3 separate regions of the Homo sapiens genome follow, and all the other regions are linked to region 3. The links are contacts of gene promoters, found by promoter capture Hi-C in blood cells and fetal thymus (Javierre and others, 2016). All regions are on one chromosome and are shown on one strand. The core of a region is centred on a gene start or on the middle of the fragment in contact, and the rest is flanking DNA. Distances in the headings are between cores, read along the strand shown. Region 1 overlaps ZNF772 (zinc finger protein 772). Region 2 holds the start of VN1R1 (vomeronasal 1 receptor 1). Region 3 holds the start of SLC27A5 (solute carrier family 27 member 5).

Region 1 (3,974 bases), core at 1,069-3,568, 1.0 Mb after region 3:
GGCTTAAAGGAGAAAGGCAAGCCCATCTTTGGTTGTCTGGTAAGCATGATGTTAGTGACCCCAGAGGAATTTGCTTACAGAAGGGTGAGGCCCTGTATGCTAAGCACAGAGCTTAGAGGGTGACAACTTCTTCACCTGCCTGTGGTTGCTATGGGTAGACACAGTGATCCATTGGGACCATGAGGCGAGAGAAGACACCAATGACATCTGGTCCTGATATTTCCTGAGTTGAGGAGTTAGGTAGGAGGGTGTACAGGAGGGAGATGTGTGGGGGCACGGATGGGGGTTCTTGGGAGAGATGCTGCTCATGGACTTGGCTCTCCTGATTGTGGCAGGGGCAGGTGAACTTTGAGGACGTGTTCGTGTACTTCTCCCAGGAGGAGTGGGTGCTCCTTGATGAGGCTCAGAGGCTCCTGTACCGTGATGTGATGCTGGAGAACTTTGCACTTATGGCCTCTCTGGGTAAGGCCGTCACATCCACCCCAGTGACTTGGACTGGGTCCTGCCCTTCCCCTTTTTTTCAGGGCATCTTTGTCCTTCCTACATCAGAGCCGTGGACACTGTCTCATTTCTTAGTGCCTGGAGTAGGTTCTGTGAGTGCTGGGCTTGGGCTGTTTGCACTCCTACTTTCTCCTTTTGAGCATTCCCAGCGCTTGCTGTCTCAGAGCCTTGCAGGCATGGATTCAGGAGTTATGCATTGTATTGTCAGCCCAGTGGGTCATATCCATCTTGTCCTTTCCCTGTCTGAATTCCTCTGTCTGTATCCATGACACCTCTGTGCCTGGGATTCTGCGCTCTTCCTTTAGCTGACATTTCCTGTGGCCTGCCTATGTCAGGAATTGTAGGGACCATTATGGTCGCTACTTGCTAGGACCACTGCACTATTCCTGCAAGACCTTACTCTGAGATTATTTTAATAATATTTAGTTTTCTATATGGGTTACCCAGACCAGTGCTGTTCTATCTTTCCCTTAGGACATACATCTTTCATGTCCCACATAGTTGCCTCACTGGTGATGGGTAGTGAGCCCTGGGTACCTGACTGGGTGGACATGACCCTAGCTGTTGCCACAGAGACTCCAGGTGGGAGTGACCCTGGTGAGTAGGAGCTGGGGAAAGGTGTGATGTCAGGGCTGGGTTCATATCATTCCATAGCCTCTTTGTGCCTACAGTTGTATTAGTGCTAAGGCCACTGGCCTTTCATACTCTGGCCTTTGGCCTCTGGATGTTCCATACCTCTGCCTTCATGTCTCACCTGTTCCTCTCCATGGCTTGTTCTACAGTGCCTTCCAGCATTGGCCTGTACTTAGTGTTTCATGAGATGTGTAGCCCAAATAGTCCTTAAACACCAACTACTGAGTAGCAATTTGATTTTCTTTGGTATGGACCATAACCTTCTGCACAACTCTCACCTGTCCCCAGCAGCCAAGAAAATCTGATTGTGAATGACTTTGAGACCTGCCTCTTTTTTGTGCTGTACCCCACATCTTTGTCCTCTCCCAGTTGAGGCCTTCTCCATTCTATGACATTTAGATGCCAACTACCGTATAGTACACATTTGCTGAACTTGAGTTTGGACCCTTGTCCTAACAACAGTCCTATGACCTTGGTCTTAGTTGTGTTAGACACATATTTGTAGTGAGGCTTCCCCTCTTCCACCTGTGTCAATTTGTACTTCACCAGCATTTCTCTGCTTTCAGGTTGTTGGCATGGAATGGAGGATGAAGAGATACCTTTTGAGCAGAGCTTTTCTATAGGAATGTCACAGATCAGGATTCCCAAGGGAGGTCCTTCTACTCAGAAGGCTTACCCCTGTGGGACATGTGGCCTGGTCTTAAAAGACATTTTGCACTTGGCTGAGCACCAGGAAACACACCCAGGGCAGAAACCATACATGTGTGTGCTGTGTGGGAAACAGTTCTGCTTCAGTGCAAACCTTCACCAGCACCAGAAGCAGCACAGTGGAGAGAAACCCTTTAGAAGTGATAAGAGCAGGCCCTTTCTTCTGAACAACTGTGCTGTGCAATCAATGGAGATGTCTTTTGTGACAGGGGAGGCTTGTAAGGACTTCCTAGCCAGCTCAAGCATTTTCGAGCACCATGCCCCTCACAATGAGTGGAAGCCACACAGCAACACCAAGTGTGAGGAGGCCTCTCACTGTGGAAAAAGGCATTACAAATGCAGTGAATGTGGGAAAACCTTCAGCCGCAAAGACTCACTTGTTCAACACCAGAGAGTCCACACTGGAGAAAGGCCTTATGAGTGCGGTGAATGTGGGAAAACCTTTAGCCGCAAACCCATACTTGCTCAGCACCAGAGAATCCACACTGGAGAAATGCCTTATGAGTGTGGCATATGTGGGAAAGTTTTTAATCATAGCTCTAACCTTATTGTACATCAAAGAGTACACACTGGAGCAAGGCCTTACAAGTGCAGTGAATGTGGGAAAGCCTATAGTCACAAATCTACACTTGTTCAGCATGAGAGTATCCATACTGGAGAAAGGCCATATGAGTGCAGCGAATGTGGAAAATACTTTGGTCACAAATACAGACTCATTAAACATTGGAGTGTTCATACTGGAGCAAGGCCTTATGAGTGCATCGCATGTGGGAAGTTCTTTAGCCAAAGCTCTGACCTTATTGCACATCAAAGAGTTCATAATGGTGAAAAGCCTTATGTGTGCAGTGAATGTGGAAAAGCCTTTAGCCACAAACATGTACTTGTTCAGCATCATAGAATTCACACTGGAGAAAGGCCATATAAGTGCAGTGAATGTGGGAAGGCCTTCAGGCAGAGGGCTTCCCTCATCCGCCACTGGAAAATTCACACTGGAGAAAGGCCTTAGGATGGGAGATAATTCCGTTTCCTTGTTCAACATAATAACTGACATCAGAGAGAAGCTCCAAGCATAGCCTTTATGTGTAGCCGACAGCCAGAAGTAGAACTTTATACACTCAAACACTCACCCTGGGGAGGTTCTTCCGAGTGCCAGCTATATGGGAAGCCTTCTGGAGCTATGCTGAATTTTCTAGACTCTTGCTGGAATTTCGTCAAGGCAGTGCCTGTTAGAAGCCATCTGTCTTTGTGCTGGAAGAGTCCTGCCTTGTGCCAAAGTAACCCCAATGTGTTTCAAAAGACAGACCTCTGTACTATTCCCTTCCCTGGAGGGAATCATCAGTAGCCTGAGGCCATCAAGGATTCTCACTTTTTTTCTGCCCCACTACTGGTTTAAGCATGAGCATGACCCAGTTTTAGCCAGAAAAATGGGAGCTTTGTTCTGCTGACCACTGGCAGAGGTTTCCCTTCATGGATATAGTTGATCTCACATGGCACTTGGGACGAATTTTTCTAGCCTTCAAGACACCTGACCTGAAATTGGCTGCCTCATATTCTGGTTTTGCAACAAATGCCTTAATTTTTAGACTATCTGAAATCTTGAGGATTCTGTTCGCTTTGTGGGTTGGGTTGAGAACAGAATTGAGCTAAGCCAGTATGAAGGGAAGAACAGCTTTTGTGAGAGCTCCAACTATCTGTATCTCTGAAGTGATAGTAGGATGGCAAAGACTAGCTCTTATGCTAGTGTCAAGCTAACTTACTTGACTGCTTCAGCTCTCCTAGGAAAGAATGCCAGTCTTTGTAGGCCTAATCTTTTGGTCTATATGTTAAGATTTTTTGTGTAATTGAGGTCACCCTAAGCAGTGGGCATTTGTTGTGATAATCTCTAATGTGTCTGGGAGCAACATGAATTACGTCCCTTGTTCCCAGAAGATACTTCATATTCCCAAGGCTTCTTGAGGAGAATTTGAACTCAGTGGACATGTCAAGATCTCTGAAGTCTATTTTTCAGTAGGCAGTTGATATTGGCTGTCCTCCAGAAGGCCCAGGTAGGAATCATAGTTGGTGCAGAAACCCAGATTAATAAAGGAATGAGAAAACTGCAGCAAACTATAGGGAATATGACCCTTCTAAAG
Region 2 (3,580 bases), core at 747-3,246, 1.1 Mb after region 3:
GACCAGCCGGGCCAACATGGTGAAACCCCATCTCTACTAAAAATACAAAAAAAATTTAGCCAGGCGCAGTGGCAGGCGCCTGTAATCCCAGATACTCAGGAGGCTGAGGCAGGTGAATCGCTTGAACGTGGGAGGTGGAGTTTGCAGTGAGCCGAGATAGCGCCACTGCACTCTAGCCTGGGCAACAGAGTGAGACTCTGTCTCAAAAAAAAAAAAAAAAGAAAGCAAAGAAAGAAAAAAAAATTAAATTAAATTAAAAAAAAAAAGGAAAATCTGTCTGAAAATTCTCACCAGTTACCAACACTTCTTTCTGAGGCTAGGAGGAGAAGGAGGTGGTATGTTAAAGTCAATAATCACACTAACTTTATACATACAAGAAGCTTTCAAAATAGTCATAGTAAAAATGGTACTTTATAAGGAGAAGCTGAAAAAATAGGAAACCAAATGCATATTGGAAATAAATTATACAACTAGGACAATGGAGCAAAATAAGAGATTAAAGCAAAGAATCAGGAACTATCTTGAAAATAAATGATGAGTTCATATAAATAGGAAAAACATTTGTCAACAAGTGGTTTGTGGGAATCTAAAAGGTTTTCATACCTCAGAGCCTGAGTTTTTTTTTTTTTTTTTTGAGACCGAGTTTCACTCTTGTTGCTCAGGCTGGAGTGCAATGGCATGATCTCGGCTCACTGCAACCTCCGCCTCTGGGGTTCAAACGATTCTCCTGCCTCAGCCTCCCGAGTAGCTGGGATTACAGGCATGCGCCACCACCTCTGACTAATTTTTGTATTTTTAGTAGAGACGGGGTTTCTCCCTGTTGGTCAGGCTGGTCTCGAACTCCCGACCTCAGCTGATCCACCAGCCTCGGCCTCCCAAACTGCTGGGATTACAGGCGTGAGCCACCTCTCGCCTGAGAATCTTGATACTGCTGTGTTATTGATTGCTCCACCCCTAAAGAGATGTAGTTATTCATGGGAGAAAATACCTCATAATTTTCCCTGATGATAGCAATTCCATAGAGACACCAAAAGAATCTAAATTATGGCCGGGCGAGGTGGCTCATCCCTGTAATCCCAGCACTTTGGGAGGCCGAGGCGGGCGGATCACGAGGTCAGGAGATCGAGACCATCCTGGCTAACACGGTGCAACCCCGTCTCTACTAAACACACACACACACACACACACACACACACACACACTAGCCGGGCGTGGTGGTGGGCGCCTGTAGTCCCAGCTACTCAGGAGGCTGAGGCAGGAGAATGGCGTGAACCCAGGAGGCTTCAGCCTCCCGAGTAGCTGGGACTACAGGCACGCACCACAACACCCAGCTAATTTTTGTATTTTTAGTAGAGACGGGGTTTCACCATGTTGGCCAGGATGGTCTCCATCTCCTGACCTTGTAATCCACCCGCCTCAGCCTCCCAAAGTGCTGAGATTACAAGCGTGAGCCACCGTGCCTGGCCGCAGTTACTATTTCTTTTGTGATTGATATATATGAATATTGTGCAATGAAATTCCCTCCCAATTGAATTATCTTTCCCTAAAAATAAACCCAAGCTTTCTGGAACATATTGAATTTCCTATTTAACAAGTTTTAAGGATATCTTAGGTGTTTCTGGGATTAGTATTTATTTTCAGGATCTTTTGCATTTACTTGTGAGAAATGGCATTGAGATAAAAATGTGTGGGCTCAAGGTGGTCATGGTTATTTCTACGGAGTCAATTCACAATCTCTAGACCTGTCCGGTGGAAAATAACAGAAATATATGTGCTTAAAATAAAATATACCATGATGCAATGTTGATTGTTCCAAAAATTATAGTTTTTAAAAATTCTTCAAGTTAGCATTTGTACTGTGCTGAAGGCCTTGTTACCAATTGTATTGTAGCGTTTTTTTAATTTCTTTTTTTTTTTTTTTTGAGACAGAGTCTCGCTCTGTCGCCCAGGCTGGAGGGCAATGGTTTGATTTCAGCTCACTGCAACCTCTGCCTCCCAGGTTCAAGCGATTCTCCTGCCTCAGCCTCCCGAGTAGCTGGGACTAGCACGCGCCGCCATGCCCGGCTAATTTTTGTATTATTAGTATTTTGTATTATTAGTAGAGACAGGGTTTCACCATGTTGGCCAGGATGGTCTCCATCTTGGCCTCCCGAAGTGCTGGAATTACAGGTGTGAGCCACTGCACCCGGCCTAAAATTTGTTTCAATGCATCAATAACAATGGTGTTTACTAAAATATTAGTGTGGAAAAGGTTTTATGGTGTATTATTTTTGCTTTTCATATCTCCAGGCTACTTAATTGAAGGTTTTATTGAAATAAGTGTAGACTCACAAGCAGTCATAAGAAATAATACAGAAAAAGCCCTGTCCATATTACCCAGGGTTCCGTCATGATTACATTTTGCAAACTATAGTATAATATCACTCTAATGATATTGACTCTTCTGTGTTCTGTTTTTATATATTTCCCTAGTTTTGCTTGTATTTACTTGTTGCATGTGTGTAAGCCCTGAGTTTTATAGGTTTGATTTGTGGATCTGTTGTGCGGTTGAGCCCTCATTCATTCACCTGCTTCTCTGCAGTTGGACACACAAGCAATTGCCTTTGCACGAACAGGGACAATCTTAATTTCTGTTTAAGATGAGAAAATATGGTTGGAGACACATTAAAACTTCTGTCTCCACTGATGACAAGATACTTCTTTCTGCTTTTTTATTCTACTGATTCTTCAGACCTCAATGAAAATCAACATCCCCTAGATTTTGATGAAATGGCTTTTGGAAAAGTAAAATCAGGGATTAGCTTCCTCATTCAGACTGGAGTTGGGATCCTGGGAAATTCCTTTCTCCTTTGTTTTTATAACTTAATTTTGTTCACTGGACACAAGCTGAGACCCACGGACTTGATTCTCAGCCAACTGGCCTTGGCTAACTCCATGGTCCTTTTCTTTAAAGGGATACCTCAGACAATGGCAGCTTTTGGATTGAAATATTTGCTGAATGACACTGGATGTAAGTTTGTCTTTTATTATCACAGGGTGGGCACAAGAGTTTCCCTCAGCACCATCTGCCTTCTCAATGGATTCCAAGCCATTAAGCTCAACCCCAGTATATGCAGGTGGATGGAGATCAAGATTAGATCCCCAAGGTTTATTGACTTCTGTTGTCTCCTCTGCTGGGCCCCCCATGTCTTGATGAATGCATCTGTTCTTCTATTAGTGAATGGCCCACTGAATAGCAAAAACAGTAGTGCAAAAAACAATTATGGATACTGTTCTTACAAAGCATCAAAGAGATTTAGCTCATTACATGCAGTCTTATATTTTTCCCCTGATTTTATGAGTTTGGGCTTCATGGTCTGGGCCAGTGGCTCCATGGTCTTCTTCCTCTACAGACACAAGCAGCAAGTCCAACACAATCACAGCAACAGACTCTCCTGCAGACCTTCCCAGGAAGCCAGAGCCACACACACCATCATGGTCCTGGTGAGCTCCTTTTTTGTTTTCTATTCAGTCCATAGTTTTCTGACAATTTGGACAACTGTAGTTGCAAACCCAGGCCAGTGGATAGTGACCAACTCTG
Region 3 (3,868 bases), core at 161-2,660:
CCACTTTGCCATCTAGGACCTCTATTCTGTAGGGGCTAAGGTGGGCTGCATATATAACCAGCACTTGGTTCTCTTGGATCCCTCAGTCCTGTGGGGAGTAGGATAGGCAGGCCACATCTGAGGTGGGTCTCCGAGAGGGAGGCCACGTGAAAGCCCCATCATACTCCTGGTTGCTGCTGTCCACGACCTTTAAGGCCCCTCCCATAGATCTTCCAGTCAGGCTCTAAGGGTCTTTTGGACTTAAGACTTCCCCTCCCCGACCTTGATGGACATGGCTGAGCACCTTACTTGTGGGGAGCCCAGGGGGATCTTTGGGGCCAGGTTGCACTGAGGGTATATAAGCCCCCATATATCTGCCCTTGGTGCTGGGGGCAAAGTTCAGGGAGGGCTCCGATGGCCGTGTTGGGGGCAGGAAACAGTGAGGGGTGGGATCCTGGGGCTGACTGCTGGGCGGTTGGGGACACCACCCCTACTGGCCAGCCAGTGTCCCAGGCCCCTGCATCCAGCGGAGAGAGCAGCCACTCTTTGCCCCTCTCCTCTTCAGCACAATAGTGGCTCCTAGCCTAGGTGCCCTGCCATAAGGATTTGGAGCTGGTGGAGTGGGGTATGGCCCCAGGCCATACCCCAGCCTGACCTGCCAGGCTCCTAGGCCAATGGCAGCTCCTCTGGGTTCACCTTCTGAGACTGCTTCCTCAAGGTGAGAGGCCAGGGCTTTCATGATCCAACTGTGTGCATCATGGGCTGACTTCAGTCTCCTGAACCCCAGGACTCCATCGTCGTCAAAGCCAGAGGTGGAGCAGAGAGTCAGAGCAAGCACATGGGTGGGGGGCAGAGCTGGGTTTGAATCCAGGCGATGCCAGTGTTCCTGTATTTACTGAGCACTTGCTGTATGCCTGGCAGGAGGGTACGATTCCTCGGATCATGGGACAAGGGGCTTAGCCTGGCTGAGCCCCTCTCCTCAGGGTTTCAGTGGGTGTCACAGGAGGACCTCCCAATGAGGTCCACCTTGCTGTCCTGTTGCTTTTCTGTTTGGCCTGATTGGAGTGTTCCCAAGGGCAGGGATTTCTGTGCTCTGAGTGTCTGGTACCCAGCAGGGATGGGAGGGGAGGCAAGGGAGTTAGATGCCAGCCCTGGAGGGTGGATGGGGCAAGCAGGACAGCAGGAAGGAGGCTAGTGGTGCCCAAGGGGCAGAGACCTGGGAACCCAGAGGCCAGTGATGGAAAGGGTTAGCGCCAGGCAGAGAGGGGCTGGACCCACACACAAGACCAGGCAGAGCAAACAAACGTAGAGGAGAAGGGCTGGGGGCAAAGTCCTGGGGAGAGGACCAGCCACTGTCAGCAGTGCCAGGGCCACCACCCCTGGGGAGGAGCCATTGGGCTACTCTTGAGGGGCCAGAGGTGAGCCTGAACACTCCACAGCTGCTGCTCCTAGGGAGGAGCTGGTACCATGGGTGTCAGGCAACAGTTGGCCTTGCTGCTGCTGCTGCTGCTCCTGCTCTGGGGCCTGGGGCAGCCAGTGTGGCCAGTCGCTGTGGCCTTGACCCTGCGCTGGCTCCTGGGGGATCCCACATGTTGCGTGCTACTTGGGCTGGCCATGTTAGCACGGCCCTGGCTCGGCCCCTGGGTGCCCCATGGGCTGAGCCTGGCAGCTGCGGCCCTGGCACTAACCCTCCTGCCAGCACGGCTGCCCCCAGGACTACGCTGGCTGCCGGCTGATGTGATCTTCTTGGCCAAGATCCTCCACCTGGGCCTGAAGATCAGGGGATGCTTGAGCCGGCAGCCGCCTGACACCTTTGTAGATGCCTTCGAGCGGCGAGCACGAGCGCAGCCTGGCAGGGCACTCTTGGTGTGGACGGGGCCTGGGGCCGGCTCAGTCACCTTTGGTGAGCTGGATGCCCGGGCCTGCCAGGCGGCATGGGCCCTGAAGGCTGAGCTGGGTGACCCTGCGAGCCTGTGTGCCGGGGAGCCTACTGCCCTCCTTGTGCTGGCTTCCCAGGCCGTTCCAGCCCTGTGTATGTGGCTGGGGCTGGCCAAGCTGGGCTGCCCAACAGCCTGGATCAACCCGCATGGCCGGGGGATGCCCCTGGCGCACTCTGTGCTGAGCTCTGGGGCCCGGGTGCTGGTGGTGGACCCAGGTGAGGGCCTTGGAGCCAGTGGAGAATGGAAGGGGGCAAGGGCAGGGACTATAGGACAGGGGTTCTGCTGGGACTGGCAGAGGCCCTTGGTCCCCACCTGCCTACTTTCACAGGCAATTATAATCAAGACTTATGAGCAGAAAGTAGTTCTCAGGTCATCAGAGTTTAATTTTCCCACAATTTGACCAAAAATACTAATGATGGGATTCTTTACCAAACAACATGGATGCTTTTCTCTACTAGCTGCTCCTCTGCCTGCATCTGTGGGTCTCAGATCCCGCCTCGCAACCTCAAAGGTGAGCCTTGCCTCTGTTTCTCCTCTGACCCATCTCTGCAGACCTCCGGGAGAGCCTGGAGGAGATCCTTCCCAAGCTGCAGGCTGAGAACATCCGCTGCTTCTACCTCAGCCATACCTCCCCTACACCAGGGGTGGGGGCTCTGGGGGCTGCCCTGGATGCAGCGCCCTCCCACCCAGTGCCTGCTGACCTGCGTGCTGGGATCACATGGAGAAGCCCTGCCCTCTTCATCTATACCTCGGGGACCACTGGTGAGGGTGCCCATTAGCCCTAGCACCAGCCTCTGAACTCTCAGGCTGACCTGACCCCACACTTGACTTGTGACTCAGTGTTGACCTCTGAAACCACTTTACCCTCTGATTTTGACATTTGTTTTTTGTTTGGCTGTTTTTTTTTTCGAGGCAGAGTCTCGCTCTGTCGCCTAGGCTGGACTGCAGTGGTGCAATCTCGGCTCACTGCAACCTCCACCTCCTGGGTTCAAGCAATTCTCTTGCCTCAGCCTCCTGAGTAGCTGGGATTACAGGCACACACCACTATGCCCAGCTAATTTTTGTATTTTTGGTAGAGACAGGGTTTCCCCAAGTTAGCCAGGCTGGTCTCTAACCCCTGACCTCAGGGGACCTGCCCAACTCAGCCTCTCAAAATGCTGGGATTACAGGCGTGAGCCACTGCTCCCAGACTTGATTTTGATATTTGGCCTGAACTCTGACCCCCAATGTAATTTGAGAGGTCAATGCCAGAATTCTTCCTGTGTCCAGTAAACAGCCACTGAAACCTTTGATCTTGACATATTACTTTCAGTCCAAATTCAGCCTGTGAACCCAACCACAAATCCCTATACTTGACTGTTCTCTGAGAGCCTCAAACCCCAATGTAGGCCTGGCTGTTGGAGATCTATCCCTCTGGTCAGGCCCCTCTCTGTGCTGTCATGTCACCACCCTGCCCTTGCCATGCCTTCATCCCAAGGCCTCCCGAAGCCAGCCATCCTCACGCATGAGCGGGTACTGCAGATGAGCAAGATGCTGTCCTTATCTGGGGCCACAGCTGATGATGTGGTTTACACGGTCCTGCCTCTGTACCACGTGATGGGACTTGTCGTTGGGATCCTCGGCTGCTTAGATCTCGGTAAGCCCACTTCTGAGGATCCCTCCAGTCTACAGGACCACGGGAGTAAGTGTCGGCGTGGGGCTGTCAAGGCAAAAAGACACCATAGGTTACCCAGCACCCTGTGTTCTCACTTTTGAGAAGGGACACCCACCAATGACTACCAGGGCCGCATGGACAGAAGCTTGGACACCCACACAGTCCCTGATGGCCATGCTTTGGTCAGGAGGTGACAAGACCTGATACGAGTGATGGTCACAGGCATCCAAGGAAGGTGTGGTGCTCAGGAGATGATGGGGATGCTGGCCCAGATTTGTGACATGGCCCCAAGGGC

Evidence for each region. Contacts are between HindIII fragments. The CHiCAGO score rates a contact against its expected background, and 5 or more counts as called.
Region 1: a fragment that was not itself captured here is called in contact with the fragment with the promoter of SLC27A5 in region 3 in 3 of 17 cell types (M1 macrophages, total CD4 T cells and total B cells); the score reaches 6.6 in M1 macrophages.
Region 2: the fragment with the promoter of VN1R1 here is called in contact with the fragment with the promoter of SLC27A5 in region 3 in 1 of 17 cell types (total CD4 T cells); the score reaches 6.3 in total CD4 T cells.

Annotation. Positions count from the first base shown.
Region 1 is chr19:57,472,148-57,476,121 of GRCh38, reverse strand. ZNF772 (zinc finger protein 772) reads left to right here. Exons shown (of 4, transcript NM_001144068.2): 3 at 336-462; 4 at 1,701-3,974. The coding sequence ends at 2,848. Among named protein-coding and RNA genes, the nearest start is that of ZNF772, 3.4 kb to the left of the region's middle. The HindIII fragment of the contact is 6,834 bases long and covers 1-3,974 here.
Region 2 is chr19:57,455,556-57,459,135 of GRCh38, reverse strand. It overlaps VN1R1 (vomeronasal 1 receptor 1), which reads left to right and starts at 1,996. Exons shown (of 1, transcript NM_020633.4): 1 at 1,996-3,580. The coding sequence starts at 2,650. The HindIII fragment of the contact is 5,648 bases long and covers 1,563-3,580 here.
Region 3 is chr19:58,509,534-58,513,401 of GRCh38, reverse strand. SLC27A5 (solute carrier family 27 member 5) reads left to right here and starts at 1,410. Exons shown (of 10, transcript NM_012254.3): 1 at 1,410-2,134; 2 at 2,472-2,681; 3 at 3,397-3,555. The coding sequence starts at 1,447. It overlaps LOC105372485 (a long non-coding RNA gene), which reads right to left. Exons shown (of 2, transcript XR_001754024.2): 2 at 2,279-3,618. RefSeq lists an enhancer at 1,193-1,707. The HindIII fragment of the contact is 7,866 bases long and covers 1-3,720 here.